Linked DNA regions of Homo sapiens: regions 1, 2 and 4 are each linked to region 3. Evidence: promoter capture Hi-C in 16 types of primary human blood cells and fetal thymus (Javierre and others, 2016). All regions are on one chromosome and are shown on one strand. Each heading gives the region's core, a stretch centred on a gene start or on the middle of the fragment in contact. The rest is flanking DNA. Distances are from core to core; before and after follow the strand shown.

Evidence for each region. Contacts are between HindIII fragments. The CHiCAGO score rates a contact against its expected background, and 5 or more counts as called.
Region 1: a fragment that was not itself captured here is called in contact with the fragment with the promoter of GPR180 in region 3 in 1 of 17 cell types (M0 macrophages); the score reaches 5.5 in M0 macrophages.
Region 2: a fragment that was not itself captured here is called in contact with the fragment with the promoter of GPR180 in region 3 in 1 of 17 cell types (M0 macrophages); the score reaches 8.4 in M0 macrophages.
Region 4: a contact is called between a fragment that was not itself captured here and the fragment with the promoter of GPR180 in region 3, in 1 of 17 cell types (total B cells). The highest score is 5.1, in total B cells.

Annotation. Positions count from the first base shown.
Region 1 is chr13:92,175,821-92,182,057 of GRCh38, reverse strand. All of the region lies in intron 7 of GPC5 (glypican 5), which reads right to left. It also overlaps the pseudogene FABP5P4. Among named protein-coding and RNA genes, the nearest start is that of GPC5-AS2, 170 kb to the left of the region's middle. The HindIII fragment of the contact is 367 bases long and covers 4,052-4,418 here.
Region 2 is chr13:92,152,705-92,159,099 of GRCh38, reverse strand. The region is part of intron 7 of GPC5 (glypican 5); the gene reads right to left. Among named protein-coding and RNA genes, the nearest start is that of GPC5-AS2, 200 kb to the left of the region's middle. The HindIII fragment of the contact is 246 bases long and covers 2,824-3,069 here.
Region 3 is chr13:94,600,490-94,606,394 of GRCh38, reverse strand. GPR180 (G protein-coupled receptor 180) reads right to left here and starts at 4,538. Exons shown (of 9, transcript NM_180989.6): 1 at 4,323-4,538; 2 at 846-1,004. The coding sequence starts at 4,467. RefSeq lists enhancers at 1,651-2,150, 4,506-4,800 and a silencer at 4,128-4,727. The HindIII fragment of the contact is 8,659 bases long and covers 1-5,905 here.
Region 4 is chr13:92,195,556-92,201,927 of GRCh38, reverse strand. The region is part of intron 7 of GPC5 (glypican 5); the gene reads right to left. Among named protein-coding and RNA genes, the nearest start is that of GPC5-AS2, 150 kb to the left of the region's middle. The HindIII fragment of the contact is 166 bases long and covers 1,850-2,015 here.

The DNA.
Region 1 (6,237 bases), core at 2,986-5,485, 2.4 Mb after region 3:
GCTATTTTATTGAAGGAAAAGTTCTAGTTTCCCAACCCAGCTCTCAATACTCTCATCTTTAACAAACATAAACTTACCCTGACATCTTTTTTTCTGCCACTTGATTCCCAATGCAAACCTACTCAACATTGAGCCTCCTTATTATCTATCCTTTAAATCTTCTGTTCAAGTTCTTATTACAATTGCATAATGTAGGACAGCATCTTTCCATTTTAATTTAATCCATTGACTGGATAAGGCCCACCTCAAACTCTTTTTCACCATTTTGCTTTCTTCTGCATTTTCATTGCATGATTTCCCATTTTAGAGAAACAATGGGATACAATACACAAACATCAAACTGAGATGTCAGGAAATCTGAGCTCTCATTTCTAGTAGGTTATGTATCTGTTTTGCTTTCTTTGTTCAGTTGCTTTTAGGGCTTTACTTTAAAAAATCTTCTAACTTTAAATCCTAATAATACACATTATCATTTACACAATCCACATGTGCACATTTAAAATATTAAAACTTAACAATATCACCCCAGCAAAATTGTACTATCTGAAGATTTTTAAAACATTACATAGCACTTAGCATGATATATAGCAATGATTCATGTATTCAAAGCATTAATTATCTAGCATACCAAGAGGGAAATTTTATTTATTTTTTGTTTGCTTGATTTTATTCATTCATTAGTCAGATTTTCCCCAAACACAAACTACATTCTGAGAATAAATTAAAAGTGATAGTACCTTGTTTGGGTTTACTTTAATTTAGTAGCAAGAAATTATATGTTGTGGATCTTCTTGTCTGAGCTCATCTCCATGATATCATGTGAGTAGTTTTAATTTTTTTTTCTCCTTCTAGTCAGGACTTATTGAAGAAAACTTTAAAGACTAGCTATTGTGGACTATCAGGAAAGAGAAGTAGCCCACAACCAGGCTGGCTATAGCTATTGTGGACTATCAGGAAAGAGTAGTAGCTCACAACCAGGCAGGCTTGGCAAGTGGGGATTAATTGATTTTTGTTTGTTTGTTTGTTTGTTTTGGCAACTGGTGTGTAGAAAGGTGATAAGTTTAATAAGACAATTCATATACAATTTTAGTAGCTGAAGGTGTATTTTACACGCACCTTTTTCTCATTTAAAAGCACTATCTACTCACTGTAGACAATTAGAAAGTAGTGATAGGACAATGAAAATCACCTGTAACCATTTTACAGCTGGTGCAGAGGTTCAGCATCAGGATTGGGATGGGAAGGAAAGAAAATTAACAAGAAAATTGAAAGATGGGAAATTAGTGGTGAACGGTGTCATGAACAGTGTCAGCTGTACTTGTAGCTATGAAAAAGTAGAATAAAAATTCCATCATCACTTTGGATAGGAATTAGCTAGGAGAATGAACAAGCTCAGTTGAATGAGAAAATCTCCATACGGCTGCTTTTTTTCTTTTCATTACTGTGTTCAGTGATCTTTATCACAAACATTTTACATGCAGCTATTTCAAAGTGTTGGATTAATTAGGATCATCCCTTTGGTTAATGAATAAATGTGTTTGTACTAATAAAAAAAATCACCCATAACCATAATACTTAAAGGTGACCACTGTTGACATTTGGAGAATTTACTTCTGCTCTTTATTTCCACAAATACATACACATTCACAAAGAGAAAATCCAGCTTAAATTGTTGTTGTGATATCTTATTTCCAATTTTCTTTTGTTTTATTGGATATTATTTTCCCATTTGTTAAAATGCAGCTTTAAAGATTATGGAATTTCTTGTGCAGAAACCCAACAATTGGAAATGAAATTAAAAAGCTAATTTAAACTGCAGCCTTAAACAAAAGGAATTTAGCCCTGTGGTATAAATCAGGTTAACTGTGGGGACTTTTCAACCAAACCTGCAGTTTTCATGCATAAGCTGGGTATCCTGGACCACCACATGGAGAAAAACTGCCAATTAAGAAGACCTGCCTTGAATGCTAAAAAATAAACATTTGAGCATATTTGTTATAGTAGTTTATTCCACCACAACTGAGAGATTAGTGGAATCCATTGTGCCTGTCTTGTGACTCAAACCGAAGTCCATAGTCTACATTGTTTGTCCACAGTAAAAACCGTAGTAAATCATATTCATAAAATTTTGTTTAAATTTAGGCTGATATCTTTCCCCATCTAAAGTTCAGTTAATTCACCTATACGTTTTCATTATCCTTTTATGATGTCAAATGTTATCTGTTTAATCTGTACAAATACTTTGCTTTAAAAAATTCAATCTTCCCATGTGCCAGAACAGAAAGTTCTATGATCATATAAATCATCAAAGTTTTAAAAGCATATAATGAAACTGAAAAAAGCCACTAGGCCCTGAATATTTTTCTTGTATGTTAGATTCGGCAATATAACATTATAGTATAAGTAATCTATCATTTAGCTAGAAGTAGCCTACGAAGATTATGAGCAAGTGCTATGCCTACTCATTGATGAGAGAATTCTAGGTGTTAAAAGATACACTGTGACCAAGTTATTAGTTCAATAGCATAGTGAGTTGTTACTTTGACAAACTCTTGTGGACAGAGAGACCACGACAAATTAGTTCAGTCAGAGCCTAGCTGTTGAACCTAACATGGTAACACAATTCATGAGTAAGCTCAGACTATGTAAATATCTTGAGAAAACAAAGTCATCAGAAACCCTTCCTTTTAGGCATCTGCACTTAGCTGTGTCATCTGTAAAAGAAAAAGAGGGCCATGCTCATCTGGAAATAGTTCCAGTTTGACAAGATTATAAACCAGGATATTATCCTTTATTTTTTTCCTTTTAATTGAAAATTTTTTTAGGTGGTGAGGAGTATGTAAGAGTTTTTGTTTTACCCCAGAGCTAATTTAGGATTCTTGGCCCAAAAATGTCAGTTCGTTTTTACTTAACTCCCAAAGAAACTATTAATTACTCATTGTGCAAGGAGAAAAAGATGCTAATGAACAAGTGTAGTCATTTGATGACAATACATTTCAGGTGTCATGAAGAATCCTAATAGTCTACGTTAGGATACTTTATTAAAAATACAATAAACTAGTTTATTTATTTATTCATTTATTTTTTGAGACAGGGTCCCGCTCTGTCACCCAGTCTGGAGTACAGAGGTGCAATCTTGGCTCACTGCAACCTCCACCTCCTGGGTTCAAGCGATTCTCCTGCTTCAGCCTCCTGAGTAGCTGGGACTACAGGGCCACCACACCTGGCTAATTTTTTGTATTTTTAGTAGAGACGGGGTTTCACCATGTTAACCAGGATGGTCTTGATCTCCTGACCTTGTGATCTGCCCACCTTGGCTTCCCAAAGTGCTGGGATTACAGGTGTGAGCCACCGTGCCCAGGCTAAACTAGTTTATTTTTAAAGAAAATGTTAAAATTCCTATGCTGGTAGCAGTTTGGACTCAAAAGATGCAAAATAGCATATATTAATGTAAGGAATTAGCAACTGTTGATATATAATATTAACACATTTTAAGGAGCTGGCATATAAATATATAATATACAAACACTATACAAAAATTTAATAATAGTATATATATAGTAACTTGAGGTTAATAGTATATATCAGAAATTACTATACTGCTGGTATATATGTATATATGTTATATATAAATATATATATTAAAATGATGGGCCACAAGTTGAAGGCACTAATAGGCAAATTAACCAAAGTGGCAAATACCTCCAGTTTTATATGCATTTTCAGTGGAATGGTATGAATGGCTCTTTAAATAAAGAAAACTCATATCCACATCTGCTGACATGCTTTTCAGGATTTTTGTTTGACTACTGCCAATTTGAATCCCTAGACTGGAATAAACGCAGAGCCATCTGTTCTGATGCGCCTGCTGTGACAGTACTAGGCTCACTGAAGCAATTGTTTCTATTACCCTTAGTATTCATGATAAGCTTCCCTTTGCGGCATCCCTTCGGAATAAATTGAGCCTAACTCGTATCAGGAATATAATTAGGTTAAGAGCTTGGTAAAACTTCCATGTGCCAGAATAGTTTCAGTCTTTCAGCTCCAAGCTTCCAGAAATGTTTATTGGTGGTTTGAACTTTTTATGCTATTCCCAGTAATCTTCCCCTTCATTAGCAAATGACTTCTGCAAGTAGAATACTGGGGCATCTTTAATTATATATAATGCCTGAACTGAAAGAAAATAGAAAAATAATGGTATATCGAAGCCAATTTTCGTTGAGCTTTGTTGTAATTAATTTAAACTAAATAGTACTGTGGATGCTATTCTGTCACTAGTCTTCTCAAGGTAGGAATGTTTAAAAGAGGAGGCTGAGTTTAGGCATGTTATTCAGTGTTGTCACATGAAGACCACAAAAAATATTTATCAGACAGAGCCTGTGAAATAAACACAATTTTGCTGACATAATACAGAAGCTTCTGGGATGCAAGAAATCATTTTAATCAGAGACTGTGCATATCTGATCTAGGTTATTCTGAAGAACACAAAAAACATACTAGTGGCTATTCTGTTATTAGAATATAAAAGAGCAAAAAAGAGCTTTATAAGGTTGAGATGTAAGTAATTTGTATAATTATAAAAATATAAAAATTATATGAAGGTACATATTTGAAATCATTGGAAAGATCAACTTTCCATCAAGATAGGTTAATCATTTGAAATAAGGAAAGTGAGATGGGATACGCTAACACACCTTTGAAAATATAATCCACATAATTTAAGGCATTGTCATTACATTAACAGTGAAGATGCAGAAGCCCAGCAGATATGATGAAAGTCAGACAAGGGGAAGATGCTCAGGTTGCCAGAGGCTAGACTGGCTTAAGGGGCTAGAAAACAACATGTTCTGATACAAGTTGAGATGCCGTGTAAAAGCCAGAAAGCTTGTGGTTTTCAGAAGCCAGGGGTCTGTAAGCCAAGAAGTTAACTGAGATGCAAAACAACAAGCTGGTGACAACAACGGGTATCCAAAATCCAAAAAGGCAGATCAATCAAAACAATGATGGAAATAAGGGTATCCAAAATCCAAAAAGATAGATCAGTCAAAACAATGACGGAAATAGCAAAAGATGGGAGGTCATGTCTGGCTTGTTTACAACTATAGCATAGTGGCAGGGTGAAGCAGTGCCTGTTATATCATTGGTAGTTAATGACTGATGAAGGGATAAATAGATGGAGAATTGAATTATCCAGCTGTAGATACAGTATGTAAAGAAGCAGTGTATACCTAGGTCTCCAGTAAAGGTAAAGTGGTGCCTGGTAGTGTGCTGGAAATCAGTAAACTAGGGGCTGAGAAGTGCTTGGATGTGGCCGTTGAGGTGAGGAACCACTGGGCCTAGCTCCAGGCACTCTGGAGGGAGGTTCAAAAATGGTGGGATTAGGAATCTGGGGAAGGTTGGAGGTCAGATGGAGAGAAACGGAAAGGGAGGTCTTAGAAATCTAAAAGCCATTGAGACAAAGGAAAATCAGAATCCAAAGCTTTGATGCCTTGGGTCAAACCCTTCATTTATTTTTTTTCAAATGAGCATTAGCTATTGGTTGTTAGAAGATGCAGACAGGTGCCCCTGGTCTGTTGTTGAGGTTGAACCTTATCTAACTTAGTGTGCTGTGTACCCAGTGGTTAGGAGCATAAATGCAAAGAAAACACAAACCACCACTTACTTCTCGTCCTTGTCCCAGTCTCAGTGCCTGGAGAGATGAATGTTGCAGTGTGACAGGAAGCTGTCTTGAGACACAAGGGCTACCTCATGAAAGGTATGTACTTTATCCAGGGAGAGCCTTAGCATACAACAGAACTCCTTAAGGTGTAGTCTCTGGATAAGCAGTGCCATCATCATCTGAGCATTTTTTGGTAATTCAGAGTCACCGGCTCCATCCTAGACTTACTGAATTAGAAATTCTGGGGTTGTGGACAGTAATTTGTATTTTCTAAAGTCCTTCACGATATATGGTGATTCTGATGCACATTAAAATTTGAGAACCACTGTCTTAGAGGAAAACAAACACTAGCAATGGGTAAGGAGCAAACTTCATGATAATGGTAAAGCATGTTTCTGGCTAGATATAGATAAATGGAAACAAACATACAGAGTCACCATTGAATCTGAAACCTAAAAAGTAGGAACAGAGCTTCCAGGATTCTGTATCTGAGATTCTTCTATATGAGGAGACAGGTTTGAAAACTACTATTAAATTGGTAACGGGGTCTTGTATTTAGCCTCTAAAGAGATAAATGT
Region 2 (6,395 bases), core at 1,697-4,196, 2.4 Mb after region 3:
GCTCAGATCTGTGACAAAATAGGCAAATCACCAGCACAGTAGCTATAACAGTCTTCTGGGTTTTGAAGTATGTGCCTTCAGAATCATAGAACATGTGAGCACCACACTCATTTCACTGAGATATGGGAGAAAATGAAAGAGTTTAGTTTGGTCAAAAGCATCTGGGTGCCTTCAGAATAATTGAAATTGGTTGTCTGAAATGGCAAATAACTAAAAGCTATTGTTCAACAGTTCATAAATTTTGATACCGAACCAGCCTCCTCTCCTTAGAGGACCGCTCTGCCTAAAAAGATTACATGATGGCTGGAGTTTCCATATCTCAGCAAAAAACAGTTTTAAAATAGTATTTCACCAAGAGTGTAGAGATGGACAATACAGAAGCAGAGAGACCAATGTGACCAATTGGGCAAGAGATGTTGAGGAATTAAACTAAGATAGTAGCAGTGGGGATGTGAAAGAAAAGAAATTTAGAAGTAAAGGCAATGGGTCTTATTAAATGCGGGGCGTGAAGGGAGAGGAGGAACACAAGATGACTCCTGAGTTTCTGTCTTGGAGGATGGTGAGTCATAGTGTTGTCAGAAGAAAAAAAAAAAGGAACAACTGAAAAGAATTGAGAGGAAAGTTGACAGGTTTATTTTTAGACGTATTGAATGAAGACCTAGAGCTAACTGTTATCTAAACATCACTGGAACTTCTTGTATTATTTGGGCATTGTGTTTTGAATGTATGAATTTTCCTTTGTAGATTTTTCAGTTGAATAAATCCATTCTTTTCAGAATAAGTCTAAACGGCTCTATAGGACAACTGTATATATAGGCTTCTGCATTGTAGAGGCCACCAACTGCTTTCTCAGCCTCGTCTATCATTCCTTCCTCAAAAGTGGTGCTCCAGGAAGAGTGCAAACATTGAGCTTCCCTGAAAACACTGATACTTGAAACATCTGTACTTTGGTAAATGCTTTGTCTGTCATGAATTTTAGTCCACTCTCCATCTGATTATCTTTGGTCCTCTATTGAAACCCAGCTCAGCTATAATTTCTAAGATGATATTCTTAAGAAAATCCCCATATAATGGATCATTCTCTACTATTTATGTATTCTTTATTCCTCATATTTCTCAATTTTATGTATTTTTTACAGTTCATTTTAATGTATTTACTGATATACCTATTTCCCTTTCTAGACTGTAATTTATGAGTATATAGCTGGGATACATCTTTAAAAGTCACACCAGAAACAGTGAGATTTCTCACAACTCATATGCTGAGAAAATACTAGTTAGGTATATAATGAGATAGTTTAACTCAACCAAGTGATAAAATATGAAAAGGGGAGGGGAATAAATTCACAAAAGAGGAAACACAAAATGGTCATTAAACAAAAAATAACGATAAACCTCACCAGAATCAGTTTTTGCATTTCCTTTATGTTGACTAAATTTTAAACATGTTTCTTCCTAACATAAGCCCCTAACTTCTTTTTCTTAATGCACTTACTTTAGAACATTTGTAATTGTAAATTCTTTCTCTTCCCATTTGAGATTTAAATCTTCCAGTTTCTTGCCTGTTTCAAAAGCCAGGATTCTCTTTTTCAAGGAGCCATCTTTATGAGATGTAGTCATCAAGACAGAACCCCTATCTCCCAGTCTCTATGTCAGGGAAGCAGCCTAACTTTCATAAATACCAATTAGCAAACACATATGACCTAATCACATTGACCAAGCTCACTCCTAAGACCGGCCAAATACTTTTTCACTAGCTCTCCCAGGTGCATAAAACTATCTCATCTTTTGGTTCAGTGGAGAGTTCTCTCTCTTTCCCCTACTGTAATCATCTTGAATAATGAACATCTTCCTTGCCTATTTCATTCCATCTGTTGCAATTTCTTTCATATACACAAAGATATTTACCATTTACATTTTAAAAATTCAGCAAAATTAAAAACTCTGAGGATATGAAATTATGGTACAAATCCAAAAATAGTCTACTTGGAGTGCTGGTGCAAGTATGAATTAATATAATCACTTTGAAGATTAGTTTTGCAACCTAATGGAATACATACTCATGCACAGAGAGGCTTGCTTGTAGCATTGTTCATTAAAATTGGAAATAATAGATAATACATTGTGGTATATTCATACATCAATTATAATAAAGTCTATTTTATCAGCAGAAAGACAAATTGGAGGCATATACATTTTAAAAACACTGCTGTTTAATATTAATATTAAAAATAGTAATTCTATATAATTACAATATATAAACACACATATATATGTAAATCAGGGGGAAAGGATCAAAAAGGAAGAGCATCAAGGTGTCATCTATTATGCTATATTTTATTTACTTATAAAATGAAAATGATTGGGAAATTCACGTAAGATAGCAGTGGTGGTTGCAACATAGCTTTGGGACATTCAGAAATCCTTACATAAAATGAAAAGACTAACTTGATAGCAAAATTAAAATCACATGGATACCATTTATTAGACTGGTGCAAAAGTAATTATGGTTTTTGCCAATTAAATAAAACAAAACTCAGTCAAAATGTCATCCTCATTAACCTCAAAGCAGAAATGAGAGAGAGCACACCACCAATGGTCAATCTACACACTATCAGCATGTGTGCAGAAGAAACAGAGGGAAGCAATGCAGCAAGTTAAAGCCATGAAAACAACAGAACCCACAGGATTTATTGAAAATCAATGTGAAAACAGCAGAGAACTGTGAACATTTATGCCCACACTAATAATGGGTGGATGCAAGGGCTCTGTTATAAGGCTAAAGGAAATAAAGTCTCTGAAACCTGCTGAACTCTTGAAGCTTAAAATCTGCCAAGTTTTCTTACCATTCAGGATGAGGGGATTCCACATACAAGAGTAACTGCTGAAAGTGGAAAAAAAATAGTGAGATAAGAATAACAGAAAGTTAAGAAGAGAAGATATGAATAATCACTGGGGAGAGAAAAAGACCAGAAATTTTAGAAAACAAGCCACCATATTTTTTGACACTACATGACGAGAACAGAACAGGAAACTCAGTAGATTTAGAAAAGCTATTGAAACAAAGCTTTATTCTAAAAATGAAGGGAATTTATATTAACATAAAATAAGCAACAAATGTTTTGAGATCAAATCTCACAAAAATTTATCACCATAAATATTGCATATTCTGTTATGATCTCTGCAAACATAGTAAGCACACAATCAAGATGTTCAAAAACAGACTAAAATGAGATATAGCACTTCAAAGCGAGCTAAAAGGCAGTAAGCATGGGATACAAGACACAAAGAAATAAACTAGAATTAGAAAATTTCAGGAAAGAAGTTAGAGATCTCAAAAAAATAGAAGAATGTAAATTCCTTCAAAAATAAATACAATGTGCAGAAATGCAAAAGCAAAAAAGCACCACTAATAATATCTTAAGAGAAACAGAAGGTAAAGAGGTGAATTTTTCCAATCCAAAAGAATTTGAGCGAAGATCAAAAAGGTTGAGGAAAAAGCTGAAGATAAAGAAAATTCAACAAACGAAAAATAGGTGCTCCTGAGGAAGAAAGTTAAAAGAAGATAACAAATTATTAAAACCATAATTCAATAAAAGCCTCCTAGAAAAATATTTAAAATTACATATTGAAAAAGTACACTATGCAACTGGAATACCAACTCAGAGCTACCAACACAAAATACATTCTAGTAAAATTGCTGTACTTTAAAGAAACAGAAAACAAATCATTGTGCACTGAGGGGAGAAAAGCAAGTGGCTAATAATGGAAAGAAAAACAGATTATCATTATAATTTTTGCCACTAATGCATTCTACCAGAAAATGCAGAGCTTATTGAAAAAAAATGGAAGGAAAGAACATGTGAGCTAACTAACATTTTTGTATTGAACAAAATTAATTTTTAAGACTAAAGGACACAAAGTCTCATCACCATAAAAGAACTCGTAAAATATTGTCCCCATGAGTCCTTTATAAGGAATACACTAGAGAGATATTGATATAAAAGCAAATAGTGAGCATTATATAGTTACAATAAATAAGAGCTAAGTGGCAGATATGATATGTGACCTGACACTATCTCTGTATCTCTAGTATAACCATAGAATGGGGAGAGAAAATAGACAATACATACAAAAATGTTTAGCTAATTTTAGTAATCATAATGCGTAAGGGCAGTTTTAGTATTATTCAGATAATGTGTTATATTTAATGTGGAATAAAGTGAGAAATTATGAAATATTTTAATTATCACCTATGCTTCTAAGAGCCATCATTAGTGCTCAGATTGCAGTCATGAAATGACATTTCCCAGTAAAACAAATAAAGTCTCATGTAAAAATGGCTCATTCCAGGTTTGTGACAATGGATAAGCTGAGCTTAGTACATCTAAGTATACCAGATGGCAAAGAAACTAGTAAGTATTTTAAGGGTCATCTCAAAGGACTCAAAGGCAAATGGAAAAGGTACCAGCTGGCAAAATGTGAGACAGTAAGAACTTCAGTAAAAATAAGAATTACAAATGTTTTTAAAACTGGGTTCATGATGACATTTAAATGTATATAAAAGAATTGGTCATCTTCTGAGAAAGGGAGGGAATCAATTTATTATCTTGAAAACTGGTTCAATAAAGAAAAATTCAAGAATCTATCCTTCCCTTCCTGAGGTCACAACCAAAAGAAGTAATGGATCACTGAAATTGACTTTTGTATTGATAGTATCTGCCAAAGAAAAAAGTAATAACCTGATAGAAAGGGGTGACATAGTTTGGAGGTTGGAATCTCATGTTGAAATGTGATCCCTAGTGTTGGAGCTGGGGCCTGGTGGGAGGTGTTTGGGTCATGGGGAAGGATTCCTCATGAATGGCTTGGTGCCCTCCATATGATAATGAGTAAATTCTAGCTCTGAATGCATGAGAGATCTGGTTGTTTAAAAGAATGTGGCACCTGCTCCCATCCTCTCTCTCCATGTGATACACTGGCACTCCCTTTGTCTCCCACCAGTTTGTAAGCCTCCTGAGGCCTCACCAGGAGCTAAGCAGATGTTTGCACCAGGCTTCTCACACAGCCTGCAGAAACTTGAGCCAAAATGAACCTCCTTACTTCATAAATTATCCAGCCTTAGATACTTCTTTACAACAATACAAAAACAAAGTAATACTGGGGAAGGGGCTAAATTTCTTTCTTCTGAAATTTCAGATAAGGAAGCAAAAATTTGTCATATACTTGTTTAAAAAGTGAAATCCAATTAATTATGAGGGAAATAGAAGTTAATTACTTGTTTTACTTCTATCCTTTAGATGAATATGAAAAATCAGTGAACGTGAAGAAAAGTGTCTACAAAGATGGGGAGCAGTAGAAACTGTCATCATTTCTAGTGAGAATATGAATTGGTACAATTGCTTTGCAAAGCAGGCTCACATACCTAGTAGAGCTGTACATAATCTTTTGTTTTGTGGCACTGCCCTGCTACTTCTAAGATATCCTGCATCCTCTTGCACATGTATATCAAGAGATACTTTCCAGATGGTTTAGAACAACATTGTTCATATCGTACCAAATGCCACTGATTGACATCAACTCCAATATTCATCAACAAAATACATACATAAATGAGTTATGTATTCATAAATTAGAATACTATACTTTGGTAAAAGGAAATGAAGGCTGGGTATGGTGGCTCATGCTTGTAATCCCAGCACTTTGGGAGGCTGAGGCAGGTGGATCACTTGAGGTCAGGAGTTTGAAACCAGCCTAGCCAACACGGTGAAACCCTGTCTCTACTAAAAGTACAAAAAACCCAAAAATTAGCTGGGTGTGGTAGCACATGCCTGTAATCCTAGCTACTCTGGAGGCTGAGGCATGAGAATTGAACCCAGGAGGCGGAAGTTGCAGTGAGCTGAGATTGCGCCACTGCACTCCAGCCTAGGTGACAGAGACTCAGTCTCAAAAAAAAGAAAGAAAGCAAAAGAGAAATTAAATGAGTACACCTATATCCATCAGCATGGATAAGCCTCAAAACCACACTGTTTAACAAAAGGAGTAACAAGACAAGAGAGACTGTATGATTTGATTCATATAAAATTCAAAAACCAGAAAAAACAAGTATTATTTAAGCATGCACATACTGTTGGTTAAAACTGTATTTTTTATAAAAGTTATGGTCAGGATAGGCAAACTCTCTGTTCAGTGAAATGTGTTCAGAGAGGGGCCTATAGGGCCATGGAAATGTTGTATTTCTTGGACTCGGTGGAGGGTTAGGTACAACTATATTATTTTCCTTAAATTATGTGTGTGTATAACTGTATCTACCACTATCTGTGCCTCTGCCTGTACTTTGCCCAATTTTTTTTTTTTTTTTTTTGAGATGGAGTCTCACTCTGTCGCCCAGGCTGGAA
Region 3 (5,905 bases), core at 3,289-5,788:
AAGCCACTAGATTAGGATTTAAAAAGTACAGCCTCTCTAGAGGCAAATCCAGAAGTATACAAATGATGTGGTGGTGGTACATCTCAAAGTGACTTTTTTGAGACAAAGTCTCACTCTGTCGCCCAGGCTGGAGTACAGTGGTATGATCTTGGCTCACTGCAACCTCTGCCTCCCAGGTTCAAGCAATTCTCATGCCTCAGCCTGCCAAGTAGCTGGGATTACAGGCGCATGCCATCACACCTGTCTAATTTTTTTCTGTATTTTTAGTAGAGACGGGGTTTCACCATGTTGGCCAGGCTGGTCTCAAACTCCCAACCTCAGGTGATCCACCCACCTTGGCCTCCCCAAGTGCTGAGATTACAGGCCTGAGCCACTGCACCTGGCTGTCAAAGTGACATATTTTATACCATATAACTAAGTCTCATGTTCAAATGACATGTTGTGAAACAGCATCACTCAAGCTAAATTACCCAATTAACTAAGATAATACATTGGCATTTAGCTCAGTGCTGGCAGATAATTAGCATTCAACAAATGTTACCATTCATTCCATGCTGCCACTGGGTCAAAATATAGTTTCCATATTGGCATAAATTATGCAAACTGTAAAGAGTCAATGAAAGAAAGGACTCCTATATAAATTATCTGGATTTTTTTTTCAAAAACGATGAATGATAAAAAGGGAAAGGCACTGTTAAAACTCAGCTTAAAATGTACTAGACAAAGTGTCATCACAGTGGGATTATGCTGTCAGGAAACATAACATATGTACATATGGTACTATATTTCAACATTAGGAGGAAAAAAACTATATCTAATGATCAAAGAAAAAAGGATATACTCACTTGTCAACTGAGCTTTGGATAATTTTTCACTACAGCTATAACCATGACTGCTTTGCTGTAGCTTTAGCCATTCCTGGGCTTGGAACAGGTAGAGTTTAGCTTCTTTTCCAACAGCTACTGCTATGTTGTTGATTCTGACACACAGAAGAGCATGGTCACCTTGACATTAAAACAAAAATCATCAACTAGTTTGGTCTTACATGAAACTGAGACATGAGGACAACTCAACACCTCTACTTACCAAAATGGAAATTTAAAAAGCACAATTCTTCTTAAATCTCGCTTAACTAGGTAAATCACATCATAATGAACACAACATTCAGAAGCAAGAGATTATTCAAATGAACGTGTGGTATTTCCTTGAAATTCAGCTGATAACTGATATTTCACTCAATAAACCGCAATATCTGGGGTATTTGAACAATTCACTGTATTAAAATTTTTGCCTCACTTTACAACCACTTCACATTTTATATTTTATTCATAATCTATAGAAATGTCCCACCAAAGTTTCTGTTTTTTAATATGACATAGGTGTTAATATTTAATTATACTCTTAATATAAAAAATAAACATAGCTAATAGCAGGAAAGTTTAAATGTATGTGTTCTGGGGTAGACATATTATACCTAAAACAAAATTTGGTATCTACGACTTTTACAAAAGAACTTTCAGGGGCTGGGCACAGTGGCCACACCCGTAATCCCAGCACTTTAGAAGGCCAAGGTGGGTGGATTCCCAGCCCAAGAGTTTGAGACCAGCCTGGGAAACAAAGTGAGATCCTGTTGCTATTTAAAAAAAAAAAAAATTAGCTGGGCTTGGTGGCTGAGCCTGTAGTCTCAGCTATTCAGAAGGCTGAGATGGGAGGATGGCTTTAGCCTAGGAGTCTGAGGCTGCAGTCAGCTTTGATTACACCACTGCACTCCAGTCTGGGTGACAGAGCAAAACTCTTTTTTTTTTGAGACAGAGTGTTACTCTGTCACTCAGGCTGGAGTGCAGTGGCGCAATCTCGGCTCACTGCAACCTCCACCTCCCAGGTTCAAGCGATTCTCCTGATTCTCCTGCCTCAGCTTCCTGAGTAGGAGTAGCTGGGATTACAGGCATGCGCCTCCACACCCAGCATCACCACATCCAGCTAATTTTTGTATTTTTAGTAGAGACAGCGTTTCACCATGTTGGCCAGGTTGGTCTTTTTTTTTTTTTTTAATTTATTTTTGAGACATATTCTCGCCCTATTGCCCAGGCTGGAGTGCAATGGCACGATCTCAGCTAACTGCAACCTCCGCCTCCCCGGTTCAAGCGATTCTCCTGCCTCACCCTCCCAAAATAGCTGGGATTACAGGCACCTGCCATCATGCCTGGCTAATTTTTATATTTTTATAGAGACGGGGTTTCACCATGATGGCTAGGCTGGTCTTTAACTCCTGACCTCAGGTGATCCACCCACCTCAGCCTCCCAAAGTGCTGGGATTACAGGTGTGAGCCACCACGCCCAGCCACCAGGTTGGTATTGAACTCCTGACCTCAAGTGATCTGCCCACCTCTGCCTCCCAAAGTGGTGGGATTACAGGCAGGAGCCACCCAACGAGTCTGGCTTCCTTTTTAAAAAAAAAGAACTTTCAGAATAATATATGTTGTAAGATGAATACAGAATGAACCTGGTTGCACACACCAACTACATTTAAGGCCCAGAACAGAAATGGCAGTAAGTTATTGCCTCTAGGGAAAGGGATTCTGGGTGAAAGAGCTAAGACAGGAGACTGTTTTTCATTTTAAGATCTTCTATTCTCCTGGAAATTTTTTTTCTATGCTTTTATTACTATAATTACCACTTTGATTAAACATTTTAAATATATTTAAATATACAGTATATATATCAAAGAATGTGCAAGTCTCTTACATAAATTGATTACATATTTTGAAGTCTTACAAGTGACTCTGAGGCCCAATTGACACTGTAAATTGCATTCCGAGTTACAGTTCATTGTTTCAGTATAGTTTTTGTATTATTATTTTACTGAATTGGGATTCATGAAAATTGGTAATAACTATATGTGATTTTACACATATGAAACAGAATGAACGCACTTGAAACACCTTATCCCCAATCTGTCTTGAGAAATCTGAATTTAGTACATGTTTCTCCTCCACGTTTACCAGATGATCATCAGGAACTATGAGGTCGTCCAAGTCTCTCTGCTGGTCCTAAGTAATAACCCACGTCTTCTATACATCCCACATTTTCCAACACTGTCCACATTGTGCCATTTAAGACAGTGGCTGTCAATACTCAAAGTATGGTTACAGTCCGTTGAATGAGAAACTCAAAATGTTACAAAAAATAATAAAATTGTTTCTAGTGTTTCTTCTTCATTCACCCAAAATATATTCCACATTGGATTTTGAAAAACTGGGTTACTGAAACTCCTTTTCTTAGCTATCTTAAAAACTTCAAAAAAAAAAAAAATCAGGATCCCTTCCCTTTATTCTGTCAATTCTGTAATTTCCCAATACTTTAAATTCCTTTTCTCACCAAAGTAGTTCCGTTTCTATTATCTTCTCCTAACAATATTTTCTAGGCCAATATTCTGATGTTCATCGTTGCATCTTTTAATGCTAAAGACTGTACAAATCAAAGTTCCTAATGTCATCAAGGCAAATAATTATTTGAAATACAGCACTAGTCAAATTAAGAGTACCAAGAAAAACACTTAAATTGTGAGAGTGCAAATGAGACCAAAATTAGAATGAATTGCAAATGCATTTATTGAAGGAATAATTACTGATTTTTGAGGAAGACCAAAAGGTCTGAAATCAAACGCAACTCTGATTTCAGAAGAGCCACACAGAACACAAATTAGGGAGCTTCCAAGATGCTACTTAAATGCATTTTCATCAGCTTAATTCTAGGCCTTACTGCCCATAGTAAATCTACTGCCCTAGTAGCCAAGTAACCAAACTGCTCAATATAACAACTACATTATCAAGTGTTTTACTTGGTTTCCAAAACCACTCTGTTGCAAGTAGGTCTCAGGAAATTGGTCTTTAAAAAAAAAAAAAAAAAAAAGGAAATTTAAGTTTCTAGGGTTAAATTCTCCCGTCACAGTGTGGCCGAGACAGGAAGGAGCAAATATGCTTCTTTGCGGGAAGGATCTGGAAAGATGCGGCCGACCAGTCTTTTGCACATTGGCTTCCAAGGGGAGGGTTGGGGAAATGGAAACCAGCTTTCAGGTGCGGAACACGATCACTAGTGGCGAGAGGCCGCTGCCTGGGGCTGGAAAGCCGCACCAGCGGGGTTGGCAAGGAACGCATCCCACCATTCGCGGCAGCTGCTGCAACGCTGGAGGTCCAGGTGAGGCTGGGGAAGTCGCCGGCCTCGCCCAACGTGGCAGGGAGGGGCCGGGAGGAGCGGCCGGCGGACTCAGCCGGCGGGATGGGCCAGCGCGCCTTCATCCCCCTCCCCGCCCCCAGACCTACCATGGAACTCGAAGTGGCCGATGCGCTGGCCCTGGGCGTCCTGGGCCGCGGTGCTGCTGAAGCTGCCCCGCAGGGTCTTACCCTGGCTGCCCTGCGGCCACCAGCAGCACGTGAGGGCCACAGCCAGCAGCCGCAGCCCCCCCATGCCCGTCTCCAGGTCTGCACCGACGCCTCGGCTCCCAGCCGCCGGCGGCTGCCCGCCCCACGTCGGCAGCTGGGGGAGGCGGGGTGGGCGCCGGAGACCTGCTGCTCTGGAGCCTGAGAGCCAATGAGGCGGGCTCCTCTGCCATAAGCCGAAGACATTCACCAGTCAGAGGCCGAAATGGGCGGGACGCGCAGATCCTAGCGTCCCATCAGTCCCCGGCTTTTGACTAGTTCCCGCCTTTTTCTTTAATGAGGAATCAGGAGGATGTTGCTTCAGGTTACGGAAAACTCATCTCCCTCCTCATTGCCTAGCACGTCTTGCTACTGAGCATGCGCGGGCGCGCTGGCACGAGTCCGCGGGGCCTTCGAAGGGCTTGTGGGATTCGGAAAAAACTTAAGAAATGCAGGACAGGACTGTTTCTGGCCGAGAGAGTTAAACTCCCGCAAAGAAAAAACTGTGTTCTTATGCAGATTTTCTTCCTTGGCGCCTGTATAACCTACAGGACGTGTCCGATTTAATGTCTCAAAGACACTTAGCTCCGCATGACCACAATTTAACGCATGCCTTCTCTTGGCATCTCCAGCCGATTTTTCCCTCCTAGGTTCTCTGGCTTCTCGAATTACATTACCCCCACCCCCACCCCCGCCCGCAGACCAGACCGCTGGGAATTGTAGGCCCCCCCCCCCCCGCAATTCAATCAATTCAATAACAAGTGTGGATTAGCCCTTCTTCTGGTGAGGGTGGGAAGCAGCGGCCACAGTCCTACTCAGTTCATCACTTTGTTGGCCTATGGCAAAGACCGTCTCTACAGTCTTCATTCTAATTGGCTACAATCCATCTCTACCCTACAGCCACAGAAAGCTGTAGGAAACAATTTGCTGCACTTGCCTTGAAAGGTTCTCAATTGCCTTTAGCACACAACCCAAACTCTAGAATATGGCTCTTCAACTCTCAAATGTCTGTTTTTTCTCATCTCCATCCTTACCGCCGTTGGTTTCCTGAACACTCCCAAGTTCTCCCTTCTAGGCCTATATCACTCCCTGATCCCTCTGGCTAGAATACTTCTGCTTATTCCAACACTGGACCTCCTCACCTTCCTTTTCCTCCTTTACTCCTCCTTCCCAAGGCACTTTAAGAAGCCTTTCTCAAACCCCTAAGTCTGTAGTAGATGCCCCTGGAACCAGAATCCCTTACTTCCCTACCAGAGCACTCACGCACTGTACTGTAAGTATCCATTCATGTGTCTGAAATCTCCGCCTCTATTGTCAGCTCCAGCTGGTCAGTGACTACACTTTTTTTTTTTTTGAGACGGAGTTTCACTCTTGTTGCTCAGACTGGAGTGCAATGGCGCGATCTCGGCTCACCTCAACCTCTGCCTCCCGGATTCAAGCGATTATCCCACCTCAGCCTCCCGAGAAGCTGGGACTGCAGGCATGCG
Region 4 (6,372 bases), core at 683-3,182, 2.4 Mb after region 3:
ATGTTGCCAAAGTAACTTCCATGAAGTAAAAATCAATTTCCCTTATTACTGTATTTTGTTGACATCAAAGACTCCATCAATTGTCAGATGTATTATTGCTTTATGTACACTAAAGAAAATTCCTGGCAAGGTTTCACATGCTATCTTAATACTAATTCTACATAATTTAGTCATTCAATATTCTTGTGTTCTTTAATTTCTTTTGTCTCTTTCAAGACATCTAGCAATCTCCCCCACCTGTAGTTGCATTGTACCTGAATCAGTAACCTAGCATAGCTTCATCAACTTGTGGGAATCCTACTATCTTAGGTCTTCTAAAACACTTGGGTTTTGTTCCAAAAGAAAAAAAAATGGAATGGAGTTCATTCTTCAGATGCTAAATATTTGCTTCAGGAATATCAAATGCATGCATCACTGCTGTGTTCTAGAAACTTTCTGTGAAGACAATATGTATTTTTTTGTTTTCATGCTGAACCATAGTGTAACCTGTTTTAAAGATATCTTCTATGACAGTTGAACCCAACACTTGTAGTATCAACCATGCACATCAATTGAAGTGACAATGTGCCATGGCTGCTCCTCGGCCAACAGCAATGTATCAAATATTAGATTTAACCAAGTGTCACTGTTGTAACTTAGAACTGATGAAATACCATTTTCAACCATCTCATCCATCATTTTATGTAAAGTTTACATCTTTGTCCATAACATTAATATCTTCTCTTCAAGAGTGAAAGGCATAAATAATGGCATCTCAGACTTTTACAGAATAAAGATCATGAATAACCTAAACAATATCAGATCTTTACCATTGGCATTCACTAAAGTCCAGAGATGATGACGTTCAGTATATCCTTAATGATAGGGAAGATGAAAGAATAGGAAGAGAGAGAAGGCGTAACCTCCCGTGTGTGTGCGTGTGTGTGTGTGTGTGTGTGTGTGTGTGTGTGTGTCTGAGTGCCTGTGTGTCTGTCTGTTGCTCTCCCTACACTCCTCCAATTTATTCTGGGAAATGTGTCCTGAATTCTTCAGTTTAGATACACTTCTCATACTCCGACCCTGAGGTCACAACAGGAGCCAGCATCTTTTCCCGTGAAGCTAACTCCACAGTTACAGTTTTTGATTTAATGATGCCACCTGACCAGGGCTCGTCCAATCATTGTACCTAATTCTTTAGCTACAATAATTGGTCTAGCTTTGGGCACATGATCCAATCGAATCCAGTTGGAAACTCCCCCATGGTTTTACAAAATGAAGCTGAAAGCTGGAATTTTTAGATAGGTATGAGGATATAAGCACTGATAATGTCTGAAATCATGCTTTTAACCTTGTCAAAAAACAGTCTGAGATAATTTGTTTGGAACATAACAGAAAATGAGAGGTAGGGAGAATCTCAACTGTTATAATTTTCTAGTTCCTCTTATTGAGGCCTTGTATAGTTTTATGTGAGCCAAATAATTACCTGTTTTGCTTAAGTACATTCGAGTTGAATGTCTTGCATTTACCACCAAAAGAGCTCTGGCTAACACAGTTACTGAAAAACAAATGTGTGCTTAGCAAATGTTTATGATTAAGGGTAATACAGCCGTAATTGTTTTGTTTGACAGCAAATGTCACTTAGTCACATCAAGTAAGAGCACAATAGCGTTCATAGATGTGAATAAAACACTCATTGAGATTGATTTTTTTCCTCTTAATTTTATTCTGAACTCATGTTTTAAAAGAAAACGTGAGAAAAATTTTATTTGGCACTTGGAAAAAGGGAAATATAAAAGAAAGAAAATTAAGATGAATTCAAAGTACACAGTCATCCTTTCCTGGTATGTTCTTACATAATCAAAACAAAGCTTGGCCAAATTTAAAGTTAGAATGGCTGTGCTTCATATTCTCAATGAAAATACATTGAGCAAAGACTTAGGTAAGTATAAGTGTTTTTCAGCATGACATACTAACAAAATCCAGGTAATCCTCAGCTTGCTCTAAAGTTTTATTTTAAAAAATGTATATTGCAAGCTTTTACCTGTACCTATTTTCTCAAAGAAATTCCTGAGACACGATGTTATATACAGCAGTCTAGAGGGATTTCTTGTGGCTTTTTTTAAAAAAAATTGTGTTTAAATTGATACAGGCAGTGTCAACATTTCTGCCTGAATTTTAAAATAAAACTTCAATGCTTTTTTGGTTTATTTCAAAGGGGCAAGTCTCTTGCGTGGACAGAAGACAGTCCCAGGATAGATCCAATTCTAATATTTCTTTAGTAGTGTTGGAATATTGGGCCTTTAATATTTGCCTATAAAATAGCCAAACATACAAAGTGTAAAAATAATGACCAATGTTCTCTTTGTAATTACAGTCTAATTGAAAGTAGACAGTATTTCAAGTCAATATTTTATTTCCAACAATGATGGAACCTACTTTAAATTTTTATGAAAGAAAATATCTTTTTTTATTATTCAATTTTATCTCAAATATTGAGAATTAACCATTTTCTATAACTGGAGACATTTATATTTTGGAATTAAATGAAAAGTCTATTAATTTGTTAATTTTGCATCCAACTTAAATAAGGGGTGATTTTGGAATAAGTTAAACCCGCAGATATTTTACATATCTTTTTATATTGAGTGGGTCAGGCTAGAAGTTGCTGATTGTGGAGACTGAAAGACACAGGTCCGTGCAGTAAAACAGAAAAATGCACTTTTCAAATATTATTTTCTGCTCCCTAACCAAACGATGATCACATATGCATGTTTTACAGAAGTAATAACCTATGTGGCAACAAAAATCCAATTCTAAATGGGCCTCATGCCCTAGCTTTAGTACTACTGAGCGCTCTGTAATTTCCTTTGATGTAGCATTGATGTGTCAGTTAGTGGCAAATTATTTTTCCATAGAAGAGTATCAAACAGTATTTTTTGGCTTCCTCTGAATGCTAAGCACTTTTAAAAATGAAATACAAAAATCAATATTGCTTATGAAAAATACTTATCATCTGTGTGTCTGCTATCTCTATGGTGTCTCAATTTGAGTATGGAATTAATGGAATAAGACCTGGTTCAGACTCACCATTTTCCTTCTCATTTTAGTATATGACCATTTCTCGGTTTCTGAGATAGAGATGTGACCTACTCTCCCCAAATTGTCAGAAATAATTTTTTTGGGGATCCTTTTATAGCTATAATTTACTTGCAAAGATTGTACGAATGCCCACTCTGAATCAGAAGTGAAAATGTATCAGGTCAATAAGTAATCTTCCCATTGGCTTCAAAGGCTAGACAGCTGGTGATTTCCTCTTGACATCAGTCTTGACGGGAGCAATGTGTCTACATCCTGACTTTACTCACTGCCAGTCTGCCTACATTTAATCCACATCAGTCCACATTAATCCACATTCATGATGGAAGCAAGAATAATATTTGAGCTAATTTGGTCATTCAAATATCTGAACTATAAGTCATCAATTTGGACTTTAGAATGCTGTGGGGAAATCATCATTCATTAAGAAAGAAGTATTATTAATTAATAAGGAGCATATCTATGATCTGTCAATGAGGTATCAACCAACCTATCAACAGAAGAAATTTTTATTGGACATCTCTTAGTAACAGGCTCCATCCTAGGTTAAAGGATATAGAGGAATGTAGCACCAGTAAGGATGCTGTTCTCATGAAGGTAGCATTTTAGTGTGGAGAGACATATCATATACAAATAGGTAATATATAGACAAACATGTAACAAGACATTTTTAGATTGGGATAATTTCTCTGATGTAAAATAATAGGATGCTATGATATTGGGGGATGGCTGAATTATTCAGATAAAGTCAGAAATGATTCCTCAGAGAAGGTGATATTTGACTTTAGACTGAGAAGATAAGAAGCCTCAGGTCCAGAGTCAGGCACATGAATTCCAGGAATAGGAAAATAACAAGTGCAAGGACTTTGAGGCAAGGATTTTTTTGGCATGTTGGGAATCAAAAGAAGGCCCACATGGCTGCAATGTACTACTGTTGGCATGCAATGACTCAGAGTGGTAGAGGTGGAAGTAGGGTATCATACGGAGTTGTTTGGGAAGCAGTAAGACATCTGGATTTTATCTTAAGACATATGGGGTGCCTGGCTCGGTGACTCATGCCTGTAATCCTAGGACTTTGGGAGGCTGAGGCAGGTGGATCGCTTAAGCCCAGGAGTTCGAGACCAGTCTGGGAAACATGGCAAAGCCCCATCTCTAGCAAAAATACAAAAATACAAAAAAAAAAAAAAATTAGCCAGATGTGATGGCGATGCCCTAAAGTTCAGGCTACTTGGGAGGAAGAGATGGGAGGATCTCTTGAGCCTTGGGGGTTGAGGCTGCCATGAGCTGAGGTTGTACCACCACACTCCATCCTGGGAGAAAAAGCGAGACCCTGTCTCAAACAAACCCCAATAGGAAAAAATATATGTGGTTTGCCCTTCAAGTGATTTGAGCAAAGATTTAATCTTTGTATATAAATCATATTTTCCAGCTTCCCTTTTACTTCCTGATATCTAGATCTACCTACAGCGATCAATATAGTTATAAAGATATAGATAGGTATAGACGTTCTATAGATATAGACGGATGTAGATACACTTATTTATGTCAATATTATTTATATCTGTATCTATCATATATCCCTCTATATGAAGTCTGTAAGAAAATTTATGGTCTGGGGGTTTTTATCTTATTATTTTTTTTTCACATCCTTGGAACCTCAGAGAAGGGAAATTGTGAGTGAAGGGAAGAAGAAACTTCCAAAGGGTATTAGGAATACCCTTTAAAAGGGAGGTGCTTGAATGAGCTCTTCGCAGGAGCGGAGACTTTGTTAGAGTTGCTATCCCCCACTGCTGTCTGTGGTGCGACTCACTTCCCTCATCTTCAGAGTTCACTCGCTTTTGTTGCACGATTCATATTGTTTCCAGTGTACCGTTTTCGGTATCTTAACATTTCCTGTATAGCAGGCCTACCCAAATAAATATTATTTTAACTTAGGAGCATGTCATTCAGGATAAAATATTTTACACTCTCTGAAGATAGAAACGGGAGTGTACCACTTTCACCCACTGCTTTCTGTGCCTAGAAACCATCTGCTTCTGTCTGCGCCTGTTTATCAGTAAGATGAGCTGCTGTTGATATTGAAAGCTCTCCCAGTTACCCTGCGTCTGACATGGATACGAAGAGAAAAGGGCAGAGTTACAGCTTTTGATGTTGGCATGTTAGAAAGCAGAAAACAGAATAGCTGAGCAGCTAGAGAAATGTTGCCTTTGGATTGTGAACAGAGGGGCCATAGGAAAAGTTTTACAAACAAAAGTGAAATTTCTCTGAGACTTCATGACTAAAATTTTTAGTGGGGCCAGTTAGATTATAATAAAGCTTTCATTTGACAGTAATTATATTCTAGGGCTGTAATTATATTTTAGGGCTGATTAAATATAGAACAATAAAAAGCTAATGAAACCTAGACTTTTCCCTCTTAAAAAACCATTTCAATTAAAATTTAAAATAGATATTAAATATATGTATTAAGTGCCTTTGTACATAGAAATCTTTATTTCTATTCATATTCCTGTGTAAGAAGTACATACCTTTAAAATAAAACATAATCTGTCTAATTAAATCTTATAAAATATCAGGTGCTATCAGCATAAATGGCTGTAAAATTGATATTAATTTTTCAAAGTTTTCAAACTATTTTATATAGATACTTAGTACTTCATTGTTAGCATATCATGTAGCATTACTTTTTTTTCAAGGGGATACATCTTTTTTCCCAATAAATATTACACATAGAAATGTAAATTTTGAAGATAATATTAATGAAAAGCAAAATTAACTTTAATTAGTTTTCCGCTGTGCTTCCACTTTGCCCTGAGCGCCTGCCTCAACTGGCTCTCTTTCAGACCCTGAAAGTCTTGGCAGTTCCATGCCAAAGGGCCTGCGCCTCCTTGTTAAAAGTGCTACACTCTCCTTAAACCCCTATTCACTCTTCAGGTCACTCTCAGAGCCCCCTTCTGAGTCCTGGTACACAGTGAGCACATAAGTATATGCTGAGTAGATGAATGGGTAGATCAGTGAAAACCCGGGATAAAGTTAATGACAAATGAACCTAAGTAATTAAAGGCTATAATGATTTTTATTAAGTATATAAATAACTTATTCTAAATGAAGTATCATTTGAGTTTATTACAGTCACTGTTCATCAAAACTGACCTTGCCAGATATTTCGTGTTTGCCATGTGCCCTGTCATCTAGCTTCAGTTATGATTCTAAATCAGTGGTTTATTCTTGTGTCCTTAACTTCACCATGGCTACTGACCCATTTACATACGTGGTGTCAGTAGAAGCATATGAGTG